Regions from separate parts of the Homo sapiens genome. Here regions 2, 3, 4, 5, 6 and 7 are each linked to region 1. Evidence: promoter capture Hi-C in 16 types of primary human blood cells and fetal thymus (Javierre and others, 2016). All regions are on one chromosome and are shown on one strand. The core of a region is centred on a gene start or on the middle of the fragment in contact, and the rest is flanking DNA. Distances in the headings are between cores, read along the strand shown. Region 1 holds the start of SNRPB2 (small nuclear ribonucleoprotein polypeptide B2). Region 2 holds the start of XRN2 (5'-3' exoribonuclease 2). Region 3 holds the start of KIZ (kizuna centrosomal protein). Region 4 overlaps ISM1 (isthmin 1). Region 5 holds the start of ISM1-AS1 (ISM1 antisense RNA 1). Region 6 overlaps CFAP61 (cilia and flagella associated protein 61). Region 7 overlaps TASP1 (taspase 1).

Evidence for each region. The method cuts DNA at HindIII sites, captures the fragments that hold promoters and counts their contacts. A CHiCAGO score of 5 or more calls a contact.
Region 2: a contact is called between the fragment with the promoter of XRN2 here and the fragment with the promoter of SNRPB2 in region 1, in 1 of 17 cell types (naive CD8 T cells). The highest score is 8.8, in naive CD8 T cells.
Region 3: a contact is called between a fragment that was not itself captured here and the fragment with the promoter of SNRPB2 in region 1, in 3 of 17 cell types (naive CD4 T cells, naive CD8 T cells and total CD8 T cells). The highest score is 8.5, in naive CD4 T cells.
Region 4: a fragment that was not itself captured here is called in contact with the fragment with the promoter of SNRPB2 in region 1 in 1 of 17 cell types (non-activated CD4 T cells); the score reaches 6.1 in non-activated CD4 T cells.
Region 5: a fragment that was not itself captured here is called in contact with the fragment with the promoter of SNRPB2 in region 1 in 1 of 17 cell types (naive CD4 T cells); the score reaches 6.0 in naive CD4 T cells.
Region 6: a contact is called between a fragment that was not itself captured here and the fragment with the promoter of SNRPB2 in region 1, in 1 of 17 cell types (non-activated CD4 T cells). The highest score is 7.1, in non-activated CD4 T cells.
Region 7: a contact is called between a fragment that was not itself captured here and the fragment with the promoter of SNRPB2 in region 1, in 4 of 17 cell types (naive CD8 T cells, non-activated CD4 T cells, total CD4 T cells and 1 more). The highest score is 7.5, in naive CD8 T cells.

Annotation. Positions count from the first base shown.
Region 1 is chr20:16,728,677-16,731,315 of GRCh38, forward strand. It overlaps SNRPB2 (small nuclear ribonucleoprotein polypeptide B2), which reads left to right and starts at 1,350. Exons shown (of 7, transcript NM_003092.5): 1 at 1,350-1,488. RefSeq lists enhancers at 461-1,329, 1,388-1,437, 1,488-1,607 and a silencer at 1,758-1,807. The HindIII fragment of the contact is 9,448 bases long and covers 1,087-2,639 here.
Region 2 is chr20:21,301,942-21,304,580 of GRCh38, forward strand. XRN2 (5'-3' exoribonuclease 2) reads left to right here and starts at 1,390. Exons shown (of 30, transcript NM_012255.5): 1 at 1,390-1,532. The coding sequence starts at 1,458. RefSeq lists a silencer at 1,088-1,217 and an enhancer at 1,938-1,987. The HindIII fragment of the contact is 6,284 bases long and covers 1-2,639 here.
Region 3 is chr20:21,124,098-21,126,736 of GRCh38, forward strand. KIZ (kizuna centrosomal protein) reads left to right here and starts at 1,985. Exons shown (of 13, transcript NM_018474.6): 1 at 1,985-2,107. The coding sequence starts at 2,019. RefSeq lists enhancers at 1,454-1,553, 2,454-2,503 and a silencer at 1,714-2,293. The HindIII fragment of the contact is 481 bases long and covers 1,081-1,561 here.
Region 4 is chr20:13,223,046-13,225,684 of GRCh38, forward strand. All of the region lies in intron 1 of ISM1 (isthmin 1), which reads left to right. It also overlaps a transcript of TASP1 not described here. Among named protein-coding and RNA genes, the nearest start is that of ISM1, 3.1 kb to the left of the region's middle. The HindIII fragment of the contact is 1,662 bases long and covers 559-2,220 here.
Region 5 is chr20:13,239,583-13,242,221 of GRCh38, forward strand. All of the region lies in intron 1 of ISM1 (isthmin 1), which reads left to right. ISM1-AS1 (ISM1 antisense RNA 1) reads right to left here and starts at 105. Exons shown (of 3, transcript NR_040043.1): 1 at 1-105. It also overlaps a transcript of TASP1 not described here. The HindIII fragment of the contact is 1,289 bases long and covers 642-1,930 here.
Region 6 is chr20:20,060,150-20,062,788 of GRCh38, forward strand. All of the region lies in intron 2 of CFAP61 (cilia and flagella associated protein 61), which reads left to right. Among named protein-coding and RNA genes, the nearest start is that of CFAP61, 8.9 kb to the left of the region's middle. The HindIII fragment of the contact is 6,753 bases long and covers 1-2,639 here.
Region 7 is chr20:13,627,776-13,630,414 of GRCh38, forward strand. It overlaps TASP1 (taspase 1), which reads right to left. Exons shown (of 14, transcript NM_017714.3): 2 at 2,159-2,377. The coding sequence starts at 2,303. Among named protein-coding and RNA genes, the nearest start is that of TASP1, 9.8 kb to the right of the region's middle. The HindIII fragment of the contact is 1,665 bases long and covers 487-2,151 here.

The DNA of each region.
Region 1 (2,639 bases), core at 100-2,599:
GCCATTTCTTCTAGTTTTAGATCTATATAATAAAACGATGCTTTTCTGTGATCCCTTAACATTCTCTACACTCAGGTGCATGTTCAAAGCATATTTGTTTTACTGTTGCCTAGTTTTCCATGTCATTCATTGAATTATCCAATGCATATTAATTATCAGTCACTTTTCCCATTACTAAGGGTACTTGAGTGAACAGAGCAGACAAAAACCCCACCCTTAAAAAGCTTATATTATTTTCAAGTTGTTGCAACTTTGGGTGTTTTTAAAAAATAAAAATTCCCAGCTGATAAAACCAACTTATTTGACAGCTACCTGCCTCACCAGTAGAACCAAGTTATAGCCAGAATTCAGAAATAACATTTTTGAGCATTTATTGTGTCTGACAATGTGCCAATCACTTTACATTTATTTTAGCTCATTTAATGCTTACAACAACTAGAAGGAGGTACTATTAGGATCCCTATTTTACAGATGAAAAAAGTGAAGGTCAGAGAGATTAGTTAAGCAGAGGGTACAAGATTAGGTTCCAGTTGACTCTTAACAACCATTTCATATTCCAGGTGATGCTTTACAGACATCTGATGAATGGATGGATGAATGAATGCATGCACTTTGGGAACTCCCATTCAGCTTGGCATAAATACTAACTCCTTAGAATACCCTAGAAAAATCTAGACCTTTTGTTGGAAGAAAAGAGTGGGAAGGGTGGTAGGGAATTATTTTTTCGAGTGAATTGAGGCAGATGATCTTACAGATGACTGGGTTCTAGTCAGCATGGTTGCCTTATCTGGTGAGAGATGAGAATTGGGCAGACACCAGTTCTGTCTGCCCTGGGCCCTCAAACTGAGTAGCCTCTGAGATTCAAGTTCATCAGCACAGTGTTGGAGGACAGTTCCTGCAGAGCCCCATGAATCAGAGGAGACTCGGAGGCAGGAGGAACTGGCTATCCTAAAGGTGATTTTAAACCGGGGTAGCTAGAGCCCAAAGAAGGGCGAAACCAGGACTAACTGCCCCATAGCATGAGGGGCAGCGCCTGTAAAATTACATAGGATTTGTAAAGGTGGAAGGCACTGTTGCGCCGGGTAAAGCTTCGCAAGGTCGTGGTAGGGGAAATGATTCACTCCCCTTCACTATTCCCTCGCAGCATGGTCCTCACAACCCCCTTCTCTTTCCCCATTTCCATTTCCGGACTCTTCTCCTGCCCGCAGGGCAGACGCACGCGCAGAGAGATTGCCAGCCCTGGCTGCCAGAGACCCGGAAGCATCGATCGGCTCTGTGCTCGGCTTCTAGACTTGTCGGCGCTCGATTGAGGAGCGTGGCTACGTTGCTTCCGGTGCCTGGCTCCGTTTCCTGCTTTTGGTTCTTACAGTAGTCGGCGTAGGCCTTAGGTGGGTTCGTGCGCCTTCTACCTCGCTGTTTCGGTTTTCCTGGCTCCTCGGCCCTTTTCTCCCCTGTTGCAGCTGGGAGCGGACGAAGCGCGAAGCTGGGGTGGGTACGCGTTTGGCCCGGGTTTGGATCTCGGAGGGGCAGGCTTGGGGGTGAGGAGACTGACTCTGGGGCCGGGCATCGCGTGGCAGCTCCCTTGGACTTCGTTAGGGGGCCTTGGGCGAAGGTGCTTGTGTCTGGAGAGGCGGGAGGCTTGCGCGTACGAAGTAAAGGATAGTTAATGTCAGTCTGCTCGTGCGAGGCGTGGACAGTTCACTGCGCTTTCAGGTGTCTTCCAGCGGCTCCCTTTTGGTGGTGGCGGGTAATTCAGGGTGTCCCTGTAACAACGCAGCCCACGATCAAACCTCGCATGAAACCCTGCAAGAGCCTCCCCTTTGTCCCCCTACCTTCACTTTGACCTCTGCCTCAGTCACTTCCCTTTCGTCGTCTCCTTTGCGACCCCTGCCCCTTCTCCAGATTTCGATTTAGGGGGTCGCAAGGCTTTGAGAAGCGTTACGTTTTACCTGTTACCTGCACAAGTGCAGCCCCTGCTTGTAGGCTCTTCCCTTGTCAATCATCCAATGCAGTTCACATACAGTGGATGCTCTGTAAATACTGTGAGATAAAGGAATATGTGGGGCACACAAGGAAATCATCCAAGTTCACAATTTGCAAGTAAAAACCATGTAAAAAATGCAATAGTGTGGTATATGAGGAAGACAAGTGTAGAGGAGAAAGCAAGGGCTGAATTTCCAGGCCTGATGCTTATTAGCTGTGTGACCTTAGGCAAGTTCCTTACCTGGTAATAGCTGTTAATAATAGCTACTCTTAAGTGTTTACCGCTGATGCAGAACTGTGCTAGAATTCATTTAGTCTTCTGAGTTCTATTGGGTAGGTTCTGTTACCATTCTTATTTTACTGATGAGGACCTGAGAGGTTAAGGAACTTCCCTCAGGCAAACAGCTAGTAAGAAGCATAAATAGGATTTGAATTCACATCTGGCTGATACTGGAATCTGAGTTTAATCGTCATGCCACACTGCTGTCATTGAGCTCCTTTCTTTCAAGTCGGTTAGAGATAACCTTGGAGTCCAGACAGCTTGGTGATGCTGTATACAAATTAATAGGTATGGAAGGACTTTGTAAGTGCACCCATTAAGTAGTTGGCAAACTTCATTAATGTCTAACCTTATGATTTTTACTGGATGTACATTT
Region 2 (2,639 bases), core at 140-2,639, 4.6 Mb after region 1:
ACAATAAACCCTCCCAACCCGCCAAAATGCTGGTTAAGGATTCTAAATGGCTCAACTTGGCCAGCTGTCTATCCCTGAACTGCCTATGGTGTACATGTTCCTATAACAGCACCTCCCAGGGAAACCAGAGGGGCTGCTTCCAGGTAAAAGGAGGAATTTCACCATAGACATAATACTTTGGAATAGTTTTGGCTATCCTTAAGTAAAACACGGGATGACTATTTCTCTAATTTCCACACTAGTAGTTTAAACAAAGTAGTCATCAGACCACAGAGGAGGGGGCAATAAATACTGCCTGTGAGGTAACTCGGCGAAATACTTTCACAGAGGCCTCATGAGGTGAGCATTTAGCATCGTGTGTGATGTGTGTCAAACCAAGAGGGGATTCAGGGAGACTTCCAGGCTTGAGCAAACGGACAAATATACCTCCTCTTCCAGACCTCTCCTTTCATATGGAAAAAATTCGTTTGGGACCACCAGAAAACAAAAGATAAAAGTATCGTGTTAGAACAAGGATGGATTAAAAATGACCTTTGCTTGAACTGAAACAGAAGCTATGTGCATAAGTGACTTAACTCCTCTGTAACTTGGCTTTCTTATCATTTACACGAGGGTGCTAACAGTACCCTCACAAGGTTCAAGTGAAGATTACATAGGACAATCCCTTAGTCAATGTCTTGGTACACTGTAAAGGCTCAGTAAATGCTGGAAAATCATATTAGCAACTATTTTATACCCGTAATTGTAGCTGGAAGATTGTATTGGATGCTAAATACCGGCTAGATTCCATTCGGTAACTATCATAATTATTTATTTGCATAACAATCAAATTATTGGTGCAAAGCAGCCATTATTACTGTAAAATGCTTTAAAATGCTCCTTTTGATAGTCCAGGTACGTACTGCAGCACAAAACTAGGAGAAACCAGGAAATGGAAGTAACGAGTAAGTTTGGATGCTTCGATTCTACCCTAGATTGAGACGGGTGAGCATAGAGGCAAAAAAAGACATTTTCTTCCAAACAAGAGGTGACCAAACGGGCAAGGGAGACCTCCTCCCGGGCATGCAGAGCGCAGCGATTCTGTGCCCAGGGAGCCGGAGGGCTGGGGCTGGGAGATCCCGGCGGAGCCCCGGCAGAGCAGTCGCCCGTGAGCCCCCGCAACTCAGACGCGCTCGGCCTCGCGCTCCGGGGCTGGGACCACCGAGGGCGAGCTGCAGCCTTCGCCACCCGGTCCGCCGCCGGACTCCGCCTCCCACAAACAGCCCGGCAAGGCCCTTTTCCGCCGCTCCCTCATCCAGCGAAGCCTCCTTCCCAGCTTCCCCGGCGGCGGCGCCGTGACGTCACTTCCGTTCTCCAGCGCGCACGTGGGAGGAAGTGCTGGTGCCCTCTGCCGCTGCTCCCGTCTCTTTGGTTACGCTCGTCAGCCGGTCGGCCGCCGCCTCCAGCCGTGTGCCGCTATGGGAGTCCCGGCGTTCTTCCGCTGGCTCAGCCGCAAGTACCCGTCCATCATAGTCAACTGCGTGGAAGAGAAGGTGAGGAGGCGCCAGGCGGCCGCCACACTCGAGCCCGGGCCCCCGGCACGTCTAGGCCGCGGCCCATGGGCTCCGCCGCCTGCCCCCGGGGAGCCTTGCCGGAGCTCGCGCCCTGCTGCCAGCCTCGCGAGCAGTCGCAGCCCCACACGCGATGGGACGCGGGCTGTGGGATTCAGCACCCCGGGGGCGAGGAATTCAGGACCCTCGGCGGGGCAAGGGCCTATAGGGTTCCGAACTCGCAGGAGGGTCGCTCCTCCCCTACTCGCTTTTTCCCGGCACCGGAAGGCCCCGCCCACTGCTTTGTTTCCTCTCCAGACCGCGCATTTTGGGTCTCGGAAGAGGTTCAGAGGCTGTTGTTGAGCAATGCATGCCAGGTCAGCTGAGCTAGCGGGTTATGGATGCACGGATTCGGAGGCCAGCTTTTTGACAACCTTGTAAAGGAATCCCTGGCGGCGACCTTTTCGTTGTTTACCAATTGTGCCGGAAAGGTTTTCTCCTAGTGTTCAGGACCATTTGTTGTTCTGGTTAGATTGGACGCTGAAAGCAGTATGTCAGGTCCAGGATGAGCGCTATAGAATTCTGAGAAGTTACCCTTCTCTGTGTGCCCTGACTACTGAACGGGGTGGGTGCTTGTTGAAAATTTCAAGATTACTGGATGTACTTGAGCAGTACAATTTTTGTTGTTAGTTAATACGTAAGTAGATTTTTGGCCATTATTGAGTTTTGTTTTTATTGTTTTCGTCATTCCATGCGGATTCGATTTTGTGCTCTTAATTAGAATTTCTGGATTGGAAACGTTCAGAGGCACATCACGCGTACCTCACTCCTTAGTTTTTGAAGGCAGTGCTTGCCTGTCACTGTGAACTTATTTCTGCTTTTTTTTTTTTTTTTAACTTTCTTGGCTTCTATCCAAGGAGGAACCAAAAGCCTTGTCTTAGTGACATTCCCACTATTTCTTGTTTTTTTCAAAAAGCAACTGCTAAATTGAATACTTGTTTCCTTTGTAAAATTTTAATCGAACTTTATTGAACTTTACTTGCACGTGGGTTAAACAAAAAGCAACAGTTCTTGCTCTACCCCTTCTCATCCCATTTCTCCACCTTTAAC
Region 3 (2,639 bases), core at 71-2,570, 4.4 Mb after region 1:
CCTGGGGTGCTCACACACATACACACACATGCTCTTCTAGAACACGTTCTAAGTACCCAACACCCTTACCTTCCCTGCTCAAAGGGGCCCAAGCTGCTTTCTAAGGCTTTAAAAGGCCTCTTGGCTGGGTCTTTCCTGCAAGGGTGACCATCACTGGCATGCTCACTGCCCGGCCAAGAGGAGGCTGAGGTGGGGATGTAGGCAGAGTTGGGACTTGCTGGCTGGAGAAGAGGAGGAGAAGAGGCAGGGCACACACATCCCTGCTAGTGTATGAGACCCCCTCACAAAGCAAGACTGAGCCTGGGGTGGGAAATGGAGTTGGGGGGAGCTGGAGAAGCAGGCAAACTAAATTCCACCCTGGTTGTCCAGGTTCTTAAGAAGGCATATTGGTCAAAGTGGAGAGGAGAACACGTATTTTACCTAAGTTTGTTATCTTGAATTATAATTCAATATTTAGGCGGATGGTATGAGGGCCTCCATTCACACTCTTGCCCTGGAACTGGCAAATGTGAATGGAAGGCTGAGTAAAATCATAGTTTTGTGTTGTTGGCCTTTGAGTGTTCCATCTCTCTTACAATTTTAGTTTGTCACACCTTGCACCTTGTATGTGTAAGTAAAATTAATGGCATAGGAAAGAAACCAAAAGAAGTGAACAATAAGAGACTAAAGAAACTCTACAGGCCGGGCATGGTGGCTCATGCAAGTAATCCTAACACTTTGGGAGGCCAAGGTGGGTGGATCACCTGAGGTTGGGAGTTCAAGACCAGCCTGGCCAACATGGTGAAACCCCGTCTCTCCTTAAAATATAAAAAATACCAAAAAAAACAAAAATTATCTGGGTGTGGTAGCGCACACCTGTAATCCCAGTTATTCAGGAGGCTGAGGCACGAGAATCTTTTGAACCCGGGAGGCAGAGCTTGCAGTGAGCCGAGATCACGCCACTGCACTCCAGCCTGGGCAACAGAGTGAGACTCTGTCTCAAAAAAAAAAAAAAAAAAAAGGAAAGGAAGGCAGAGAAGCAGGCTAAGGCTTAATTTTTCTGCCCAGTGGGTTTTGAAATATGGTTGGCTTCCTTCAGGAAGCTTTTTCCCGACGTTGGTGATGATAATAAAACCTGATGCTTTCTATGTGCTGGGCCCACTTATAAACACTAACACATATTAACAATCGAATCCTAAACTAATCCTGTGTTAACAGCCTCCCACTTTACATATGAGGAAACCTGGGGTGACTTGCACACGGCTTGGCAGCTGGGACGTGGATAGGGAATGTACACCCAGGCAGTCTGGCTCCCGGGCTCCTGCTAGAGGATCCTACAGGACATTAGGAGCATTGTCCCTTAGAGCTGTCTGCACAAACGTCTGCTTCCCAAGCAACTAGTTATCAACTTTTCCCTCTCGCCAACGATACTGGCACCTGGAACAATCCTTAGATTCAGCACGGATTTTCGAGTAAGGGGTTGGTCCACTGTCGGGGCTGAGCACGGCTGTTTAGCATTTGAGGGTTTGTCTTTTTTTACTTGGTGTTTTGTGTCGCTTTTGAGTGCTGATATAATAGAACAAGCTTAGTACAGTGCCTGGCACTCAACAAATCCTGGCAAGAAAGGAGATCGAGGAAAAGAAGCAAGCGAGAGACGAAAGAAAGGGAGGGAATGCGCCTTGTAACATTAACGTAGCTTGTGCGAATCCTGGAAGGTGAGGGGAAAGGAGACACCGCGTCAAGGGAGAGAGGAGAGGGCACCGAGCGCCCGCCCCTCCGACGTGGTCCGCCCCGGCCTCACGACGCCCCGCCTCTGCCACGCCTCTTCCCCGCCCCATGCAGGTCTTCGTCCCGCCCCCCACAAAGCCGGCTTCCGCCCCGTCCCTCAGCGGCGCCCCGCCCCCACGGCGTCTTGCCCCGCCTCCTGCAGGCGGCCCGGCGCGGTGTTTACCCGCGGTGCATGGTGGGGCGGTCTCCTTCGGCAACCCCGGCCGAACGGCCACCCAGAGGCTGTGCTGAGCTGGCGCAGCGGCAGCAGCATGAGCCGGACCCTCGCATCGGCCGTGCCCCTGTCGAGTCCCGACTACTACGAGAGGCTGGGCCAACTCCAGCACGGGCTGCGGGACAGGTAAGGGCACTGGGGCGGGGGTGGGGAGTCGGCCCGCGCCGGGGGTCTTCCGCGTGCCCTGCCCCATTTTCCTTCCCGCTCCCCCGTCCGAGGTTCCCCGGGGCCCAGGCCCGCGCGCAACGCCCCCCAGGCTCCCAGTGGGGCCTGGAGGACAGTGTTTACTAGAGCCACCCCCTGTATTGGGGGTGGGAGCGGAGAGAGGTGAGAGACCGCCCCCGCCCCGTCAATAGCAGCTAAAGCCTGGTCTACGGTTTGAGGATGCGGCCGCGTCACAGAATTTGCCCAGAAGTGAAGGTGGGAGTTCTTCTGCCTGTCACTCTCCATCAAGCCTTGTGAGTTTCTCTTGTCCCCTTTTACACGCCCCCTCCCCACTCTCTTCAAATTGCCATCCCGCCGTGACAGCTGCACTGCATCAATGATGACAAGTCCTGGAACGCAGACGGTTGTGTGTGTGTGTGTCAAACATGTGCCCCCGTTTAAACTCAGGAGACTTTTAGGGGTAGCGAGGGCTGGCTAGATTTCCAGCGAAGGG
Region 4 (2,639 bases), core at 140-2,639, 3.5 Mb before region 1:
CCAGTTACTCGGGAGGCTGAGGCAGGAGAATTGCTTGAACCCGGGAGGTTGTAGTGAGCTGAGATCGCGCCACTGCACTCCAGCCTGGGCGACAGAGCGAGACTCCGTCTCAAAAAAAAAATAAAATAAAATAAAATAAAATAAAATAAATAAATAAATAAATAAAATGAAATAAGCATTATTCATTGTTCCCAAAGGCCTTTATATTCATTGTCTTTGATAATTCACTTTTTACATCTTTATACAATTTATTGCGAAAAACTTTACCGTAAAGAGAAAACTAATAAAACACTTCCATTGTGTTTACTACGTGCCACCGTTTTAAGTACTTTACAGAATTTAACTCACTTAATTTAACCATAATCTTACAAGACATGGTACTGTTAATATAGCCTCATTTACAGATGCAAAAACTGAGGTACAGAGAGGTTAAAAAACTTGTCAAAGTTCAGACATTCCAAACTCTTGATTACACCAAATTTTGTCTCTACCAGGATAGACTAAAGCAAGGTGATTATTGCACGCAATTACAAAACAGTAGAAAAGTACACACCCCAAAGCTTAAAGTTGTTTTAACTTTGAGACATTTCTAAAAATGTCCTAACTTTGTGGGTTCTCTCACCTTCTCCCGTGGGTAGATAAGTACAGTGACAGACTGAGGGAATTTCTATGCGGAAGTTGAAGATGCCACCATCCTATAGACTGGGGCACCCACCAATCTAACACTGCGGAGATAATTCTTAATATCTTCAAGATTTCTGGAAGTTATATTTTATACATGATGCTTTCTTTCCTCATGGACTCATGAAAAGCCATAAAAATGATGTTCTGTGGAAAAGTAAATTTGGCAGATTACTTTATGAGGTGTTTGCTATCATTAGAATAACCCGGGGTTGGCCTTTTCCGCTTGAACAGTAAGGTAATGAGAGAAGCAGCTGGTGGAAGTGGCAGTTCTAAAAGGGAAGTGGACTGAATTCTCAAAAGGGGCTTTGGCTGAAGAACTGCCCCAAGAGGACACAACAAATGGGGGATTTAGAAAGAGTTATGCTCCTAGAAATATCTTGAGTCCCAAGTAGCTGCTAATCCACCAGCTTCAGCTTATCTTGTAATAGTGTTCGGTGAGACTGTCCACTCAATGCACACACTTTTCCAAGCAGAATGATGAGTTTAGCAGTTTAGTTCATAATTTTGCTGTTTTGTAATTTGTTATTATAAAAGTTTTATACTCTTCCTGACCAAAGTTATTTCTTTGGCCCTCTGACTCTCTGAAGGTATTATAAGTCAAAAGAAGAATGTTCTGCCAAATGAGGAGGTCTGCAAAAGACATTTATTAGTCCATCGTTTTCAGGCCCCAGAAAGTGAATTTGCTAGTAGCAGGTGTATTTGAAGACAAAACTGTGGACACTGTATTCTTTCTTTTTACCAGACATTTTAAACCCAAGTCTTAAACATCATCTAAATTTGTTGGTTCTGTGCTATCCTGAGCTACTAAAATCCTTCTTCACAATCAGAAAATTAATCAATCCATATACATCATTTTTATTGTTTTTATCTCTGTGTACAACCTTCTAAAATATAAGGTTGTCTTAGTCAGAAATATGCAATGGTGAGTTTATTTACCTGAATTGTAGTATGTTTGTATTCACTTAAAAAGGGACACATTCTTATTTAAGGATATATCAAGGACGCCCAATAAAGTAGTAGTAAGAAAAGCAACAATAATAGTTAAGATTTATTAAGTGCCTTTTATGTGGCAGGCACTGTTCTTAGCACTTTACACATACTAGCTTTCTTTCTTTTTTTTTTTTTTTTTTTTTTGAGACGCAGTCTTGCTCTGTCGCCCAGGCTGGAGTGCAGTGGCGCGATCTCTGCTCACTGCAACCTCCACTTCCCGGGTTCATGCCATTCTCCTGCCTCAGCCTCCCAAGTAGCTGGGACTACAGGCGCCTGCCACCACGCCCGGCTAATTTTTTTTTTTTTTGTATTTTTAGTAGAGACGGGGTTTCACCGTGTTAGCCAGGATGGTCTCACTCTCCTGACCTCATGATCCGCCCGCCTTGGCCTCCCAAAGTGCTGGGATTACAGGCGTGAGCCACCGCGCCCGGCCCATACTAGCTTTCTTAATCCTCACAAAAATCCCGGGAATTAGGTGCTATCATTATCCCTGTTTCAAAAGGAGAAACTGAGGTTAGGTAATTTGCCCAAGGTTGCACAGCTAGAAGCTTCTTCATTTATTTTCGTTATTTTATAGTGGGGAGCTATTTGAAGCATATTTCTACTGCAAGTTCTTGATAAAGTCATACACTCAAGAGAGAGAAAGGCTTTTAACAATTTACATTTTCAAATGTATCTTGACAGTCTTACTGTGTTAACTATGACATATATGTATATATACACATACATTATATATACATAATACACATATATGTATAAATGTTATCTAACTTTTTTTGTAGTTTCAGCGCACTAGGGGTTACATTTTTGACTCTTTGTATGACTGTCTCCCCTAGTATGCCCTAGTGTGCTCAAAACATTAATAGGTACGATGTTACAAGGTGGCAGTAAAAAGTTTTGAGTACACTCTCCATATTGGGTAACTGGCTGATGAAAATAAAAATGTTAGTCTTTGAATGGTTGTC
Region 5 (2,639 bases), core at 36-2,535, 3.5 Mb before region 1:
TACTCACATACACAAGGGTCACTGCACATGGCTGCAGGAATGCCCAGGTTGGACCGGGGCTTCATCTGTGCTCCAACCCACCTGCACTCCATGGTGAGGCACTCTGTTTAGAAGGCAGGTTGCAGACACTCACCAAATTCTAGAATGTTGTTGTAGGCAAGAAAGCCAAGCCCCAATGTCTCATTTCATTGACAAAGAATCTAAAACCTGGAGAAATTAAAAGATTTGGCTAAGACCATACCATTCATTTATCCTACAGCCAGTACCAGACTCCAAAGCAAGTCATCTTTCATGAAGCCACACAATCCCCCATTTCTGAACATCTGTAAAAGTTTTTATAGCCCCACTTAGCTAAAGAGAATTAGAGTAAGTGTACATCTAAAGTGCTGGGATCCTGCTACATGGTGGTTGCTCTTAGGTTGTTACAGGAGCAGAAAGGTAATTAAATGGACATGAATTGTCTCTTTTATTTAATATACAACCAAACTGCAGTAAGGCAAATGAAATAATGTACATATAAGCATTGAGCACTGCCCAGCCACATGGCATTCTACAATTCCATTCATTCATTCAGCACTTTCATATCGCGTGGCTGTGATCAGCAGATATTGTGCTAGGCACTGGAGATTCAATAGAGAACAAGCTTATGTTCTAGAAAGAAAACTGACAATAATTGATTCAGAATAAAGGAATTATTATAGATTGTGATAGGTGCTTAGCAGGACATAAACAGGGAGCAAAAGATAGGGAATAACTGGGAGTTCCTACTAAAAGAGGGTGGTCAAGGAAGGACTTGATGGAAAAGTGACACTTGAGTCCTGAGCTGGGGGAATAAAAGGACCAGCTCTGCAAAGAACTCAGGAGAGCCAGTCAGGCAGACGGAATCACAAACACCAAAGCCTTGAGATAGGAAGGACTTTGGCATGACTAAGGGATGGAAAAGAGACTGGAGAACAGTGTGTAAGGAAGAAAGTGGCACATGAACTTGCAGAAAAAAGCAAGGATTTTGCAGGTCATGATAAAGAATATGGCTGTTCTAGGATTGGTGAGGAAGCAGCCATTGAAGAGCTTCTAAATGATGGCTCCATCTGATCAGTGGATAATGAGAGGGAAGAACATAGATATGTTAGAAAATTTCACAATAATTCAGGTAAGAGGTGATGGGATGTGGACCAGGGTAGAGAAGAGTGGATGGATGCAAGGCACAGTTCTGAGACAGAGCCAACAGGATATGCTGTTGGATTGCATTTCAGAGTTAAGAAGTGAAGAGTCAAAGACAGCTTCCAGTTTCACAAGGGTAGAGTTCATGTCAGTGGATTTATATGGGACATGTGGAATATGAGATGCCTCTGGGACATGTAAGTGAAGATAATAGCAGGGAGGCTGTGAAGTGGACAGGGAGCTGAGAGTGAGGTGTCATGATGAAAGTGGTAAAAGGAGAACCAAGAGGTGTGTCACAGAAGCCAGGGGAGAAGAATGCCTTAAGGAGAGAGGACTTCTATCGAATGCTGCTGTGAGAACAAAAAAGATGAGGCCAGAGAAGTGCTCATTCAACTGGGCAACGCAGCCATGACTGGTGACCTGAATGAGGTCACCAACTGCTCTGCAGTTGCAGAGGCATCATGGGAACAGACTCCAGTGTCTATTGGGTAAAGGAACAAATGGAAGGTGAGGAAATGGAGACAGAATATACAAATAAGTCTTGCAAAAGTTTTACTATAAAAAGGGGAGATATATGAACATGTGGTCAAAAAAGAGTTTTTGGTTCATGTAAGATCAGAGATACCAGGGCATCTGTGAGGCTGATGAGAACGATCCAATAGAAAGGGAGAGATTGATGATGCAAAACTGAGAGAGGAGAAATGAGGAGTGAATTCTTCAAGAAGGCAAGGGGCTATGTGTGAGCATTGGCCTTTCACAGAAGCAGGAAAGCTTGTTCTGTGTAACAATTGGGAAGAGAAAGAAAATGAGCTATGCAGACAGGAGTATAAATAGAGTGATGGTAATAAAAGAGTTACCATCTCATGACTCCTGTTCCATCAGTGAAATATGAAGTGAGGGCAGGAGCACAAGTAGGACGTTTGAGGAGAGAAGATATAAAATGGTCATCTTGGATACTGGAGCAAGTAAGGTTGTGAAGGAAGGGCAGTTGGATTTTGGAACAGTGCTTAGTATTCATTTGAGGGTTTGAGGACATGAATCTAAAATAAAGCAAGTTTGTCAAGTTGGATGCTTTTATTGTTCCCATCACCCACCTGCTTGGCTACTAACCTACAGAAGTTGGATCACTGAGTTCAACCAAAATGGAGGTGTTGCCAGTCAAATATATAAGGAGAAGAGAAAGGGGCAAGCAGAGTTGAGGGCCGTTGCAAGGAAATGATTAAAATAAAAGAACACTTGTTGAAGAAGGAAAGTAAAAACAAGAGAAGGCTGAAGGGAGGTGAGAAAATGGCAGTGGCTTGGAGATCTCAATGAGTTTTAAAACTGGAAAAATGAGTTAAAAGAATGGAAAGTGTCTTTATGTAGAAGGTTTACTGACAAAAGGTCTAGGGAAGAGGGTGGTTGAGATGCAGTAGAGGGAAAGGGTATGGGAGGTGAGGAGGTCCAAGAACTGGGGAGGTCATCTACATGGATGTTGA
Region 6 (2,639 bases), core at 63-2,562, 3.3 Mb after region 1:
AGTCAGAAGATAGTAGAATATCTTCAATAGTGGAGAGAAAAATAACATCAATTTAGAATTGTGACATTGTTTCACCCAGTGAAACAATTCCTAGGGGACCTGGGAGAAAATAAATGCATTTTCTGACAAACAAAAACCTAAGTCATTTGCCAATAAACTCTGAATGGAGGAAATTCCTCAGAATATGTTTTTGGAGGAACAGAGAATACCTCAGCTGGAAAGCTCAAAACACAAGAAGGAATGTCAACAAAAATATGGAAAATATATAGGTAAATCTAAGAAAAAGTATGACTTGCATAAAACAATAATATTGATAATGACTGATTTGTGAGGTATAAACCATATGTTAAAACTAAGATTCAGGACAAAAACATTATATAAATTGGGAGGAGCATGATTAGAATGAAAGAATCCTTCAGGTTTTATTTAAGATGGAGGGTGTGGTAAGTGGTGTGCAAACAGGCTCCCCTGGCTCCAATGAGCCACACATCCTGTCACTTACGCCTTTGTGTAGTCTGTTCTCACAAAGAATCATGGCTCGCCTTATGCAGCCAATGGAAAGCAGCAGAAGTGAGACTCTATTTGACTTCAAGTCTAAGTCATAAGAAGTCTTGCAACTTCCACTGGGTCTCCGGAAGTGCTCCTTCTCAGAACCCAGTGCCACACTGATGAAAGCTCCAGTCACATGTTTCCCTGTGGGTGCTTCATTTGACAGCCTCTGCTGAGCTCCCCGCTAGCAACTGCCACCAGCTGCCAACCATGCAAGTAAGCCGTCTTAGACACTGAGTCTTCAGATGGCTTTAGCCACTGCTGCCATTTGATAGCCTGAGATACCGTGCAAAAACTGCTTAGTTCAACCCAGGCAGCCCACAGAACCATGAGAGATAATAATTGCTACTTAAAGCCACTGAGGTTTGGGGTGGTTTATTACACATCAGTTGATAACTGGAACAGATAATAAAGACTGTTAGGAATATATATTAACATGGTTAAGATCATCATTAAAAGAACAGGTGTAGAGATGATAACTTCTGATCTATAGAGGGAAAAATGGAATGAGAAATTTAAAATGAACCCTGAATCTAAAAGAGGACAAGACAGGAGGAGGAAAAAAGAAACAAAAAGCATAGAATGTATTAAAATTACAGAATAAGAAAATAAATTTTACTATATCAGCAATCATAATAAATGCATCTGGACAAAAATCTTCCATTAAAAGATTAAGAATGGCAGATTGGCTCAAAACAAAACAGTCATATTCTATTTGTGAGACATACCTCATATATAAAGTCACAGAAATATTTAAAGTCAAAGTATCAGGAAAAAAGATATGCCACCCAAAATCTCACCCAAAATAAGGGCTAGTATTGCTATATCAACAGCAGACAGTGTATAGTTCAGGACAAAAAGCTCCCTACAGATAAAGAGGGTCACTATATAATGATAAAACTGTTGTTGGGAGAGCTATGACAGCTTTAAACTTATATGCTTCTAACAACACAGTTCTAAAATAGATAAAAGTGAAAATCACAGGTAGAGCACTGGAGACTCTCCCGCCTCCCTGTGTTCCCCATGCCTTTTTGTGCCATTCTCCCTGCTGTAGTCCCCATGTTTTCTATCTTTGTTGAGCCTGTGATTCCCCTGACAGAATGTAATGGAAGTGGGGCTGTCCTGGTCCCAGGCCCAAGCGTTAAGATGGCCTGGCAGCAGGGCTGGCCCAGGAGAGGCACGCAGGGTATCCTGGGTACTCACTCCCAGCTAGGGCCCCTGCATGAACCTGAGAGTGAACACCTCCTTCCATTTTTGAACCCTGGGTCCCTCTGGCCTCACCCTAGTTCGAGCCTTTGCTGGGAGCTTTCAGTTTTGTGATCTTGGGAGCCTTGCACTACCATGTAAAAAGTCTGGCTACTCTACTGGACATACCACCCAGAGAGGCCATATCGTAAGAGAGAAGTGTGTGCCTACATGGAGGAGAATTGAGGAGCCCAGCCTCCAGCAAGAAGGAAGGCCCCATGTCACTCTTCCAGGCACACCCCAGCCCCTTTGGGCCACCCTCACTGAGGCACAAGACACATGAGGGAAAAAAACCGTCTTGGAGGTTCTTGCCCCAACAGATACCCCTACTGTACCCTGTCTGAATCTCTCACCCATAGAATCATGAGCAAATAAAACAGAGTAGCCACTAAATTTGGGATAATCTGTTATGCAGAAATAGTTGAACAAAATAGCAGGTCTTAGAGGGAACTTATAACCTTAAATGCTTATAACAGAAGAGAAGAAAGGCCTGAAATAAAGTTCAGAGTTTACCTCTAAGAGCAAGAACAGTCGAATCAACTCAAGGAAAACAGAAAATAAAGGACAAGAGCGCATATTAATGAAACAGGAAACAAGCATCTGGTAGAGGATAAACAAAGCCAAAAGTTTGTTCTTTAAAAAGCCTAAAGAAAAAAAAAATCTGACAAGATTAATCAGGAAAAAAAGAAAAACTTTCAAAGTAATGTGAAAAGGACATAATCACAAATGTTGCTGAGGTTAAGCAGGTAATAAAAGGGCATTATAGATCCACAATCCTTTAACTAAATCCCTCGTGACTAGTTGTGTTTCAGAAAGCAGAATTTAAAAAATTAGTTTCTTCCATT
Region 7 (2,639 bases), core at 69-2,568, 3.1 Mb before region 1:
TTGAAAGGAATGTGGCTATGCACCCTGAGTCACACAACATGCAGCTGCAACTTTTGCCTTTTTCCTGTAAATAATTAGGAAGACCAAACAACACCAGAGATAAGACCCTCTCAGATCACTGCCCCTTCTCACAAAGTAAAAAGTAATCTTCCTTAGGATGTAGCAATCTATAACCAATCAAATTGCTGTAACTTATGCACTGGTCTCCTACGGAAAATGTTACCATCCTGCTAAAATTTTTCTATCTCTACCTACATAAATGAAAACTTAACTTCTCCACTTTGGAACACAGACCCCATTTGTTTGGAGTCAGTGTTTCCCAGGTGGACATCCTCAAGCTTTGTGCATGAATAAGCTCTACCTTTAATCATAGCTTCTGAATTCCATTATTTAAGGTTGGCAGAGCCATTATCATCTAGTCTGTGTCTAAGACAGGAGGGACAGGGTCATAATAGTTATAGAAAGTAAGGCTTTCCAACTAATTGAAGCTTTATGTTATTGCTTGTTACAACTTTCAGACCTTTCTTTTACACTTTCCAAACACTCACTCTGAATACGGTAACTCACTGGTATCATGGAAGATAATGGAAGATGTACCATCAACATAGTGTAGTGGAAAGAACACAGACTAGGAGTCTGAAGGCAGAAGCTCTAGTCCCAGGTCTACTTTTAACTGGATTATTTCTGTAAATTTACCTCACCTCCTTGTAAAAGCACCTGTGAGAAAATGGGATTAAACCTGGTTTCTGGTTTTTTGGATTTGTTTAGATACTCTGGATTAGATTCACATAAGGCTTCTCGGGTTGTCCAGTCTAGATATGGCCAAACGTTAATGGCCAGGCAGGACACCAGTCTCACAAGAAGAAACATTTCTACTCCTCATTCCATATCAAAGTTAATCCTGCTGTCATCTTGCTTGACTACCCAGGGAAAGTTAAAAGGAAACCCAGACATTCTTTCTCTCTTCATGGAGGTCATGGAAAGTAGACTCTGAATACAAGAAAATAAAAATGGCCAAAGGAAAAAGAGCCTGCTGAGGAAACCTGGGCAGAGCAGCACTGTTCTGCAACCCAAGACCTTTTAAAGATGGGAGGCCCAGGGGATGAACTCCACTGTGTCTGTCCTCATGGTCCTCTGAAGTAGAAAGATCACAGGCTGACACAGCATCAAAAGCACTAGACTGAGACATAAGGGCCTACTTAGGTGTTTCTTACACTGGCTCTAGCACCAACCACCAGTGTCTGAAGTCTCTTAAGTCACTTAATCTCTCTGGTCTTAAGGTTCCTCACTTAAAATATTAAGAGGGTGGGCCGGGTGTGGTGGCTTACGCCTGTAATCCCAGCACTTTGGGAGGCCAAGGCAGGTGGATCACCCGAGGTCAGGAGTTTGAGACCCACCTGGCCAATATGGTGAAACCCCATCTACTAAAAATACAAAAATTAGCCAGACGTGATGGTGGACGTCTGTAATCCCAGCTACTCAAGAGGCTGAGGCAGGTGAATTGCTTGAACTTGGGAGGTGGAGGCTGCAGTGAGCCAAGATCACACCATTGCATTCCAACCTGGGCGACAAGAGTAAAACTCCATCTCAAAAAAAAAAAAAAAAAAGAAGGTGAACCAGCTCAAAGATTGTGTAATAATTATGCCCTAAGATACCCACAGTCTCACATGGGAATCAATACAATTTTTTCAGCAATATTTTATTTTATTTTATTGAGATGGTGTCTCGGTTTGTTGCCCAGGCTGGAGCGCAGTGGCATGATGTCGGCTCACTGCAACCTCCACCTCCTGGGTTCAAGCAATTCTCCTGCCTCAGCCTCCCACAGCAACATTATTTTTAAAAAACATAAACCAGAGTTCAAAAATTACTTTGTCTGGTTTTAATACTACCTAACCTAAATACATCTATTACATAGAGTTAAAGTAAATAATAGGTTAGGGAAGTGAAAACCTAGGAAGAGCTGCCATTCTAAGATCTTCTAACTGGGGAGTAAAGAGGGAGGTCCTCACTATATCCAAGTCAAACAATCGCTTTGCTTCCAATTCCTCTCTGGCAGTTTTGCCTCCTCCAAGTGTGAAATGTGATTCTCAGTGTACTTCAAGGCAGAAAAAGAAAAATCAACATTATTGGCATCTTCCAAGCCATCCACAAAGCTTACCTGCATGCACCAACACAAAGCCTCCTCGTTTCTCTTTATAGGACTGCTTTGTTTCCAACTCTTTGGCTGTTATTTTACCAGCCGAAACCTGAGATGATCTGGAAGGCAGCCCTTCTCCAGAACTCATCCCCTTCTCCATGGTCATTCTCCAAGATTACCATCTTCTACTGAGAAAGGGGCATACTTCCATCCAAAAGTAATTGCAGGAGAGGAATTACCCTAAAGGAAAACAGGCAAAGATGGTATACATTTCTTTCCACCAACACATAAGTTACTTACACAAATTCATGCAAAGATAATGTTCAAAAATCCTATTTTTAAGTTATTTAATTGAGCAATACAAAAAAGGTATCAAAGCTATTTATTAAAATTATTTTTTCTTATTCCCATTGAAGTCGGATAAAATTATTTAATTGGGTAATATAAAAAGGTTAGAATTTAAATCTCTCTGTCCACTGATAGTACCTGCTTAGGGGCGAGC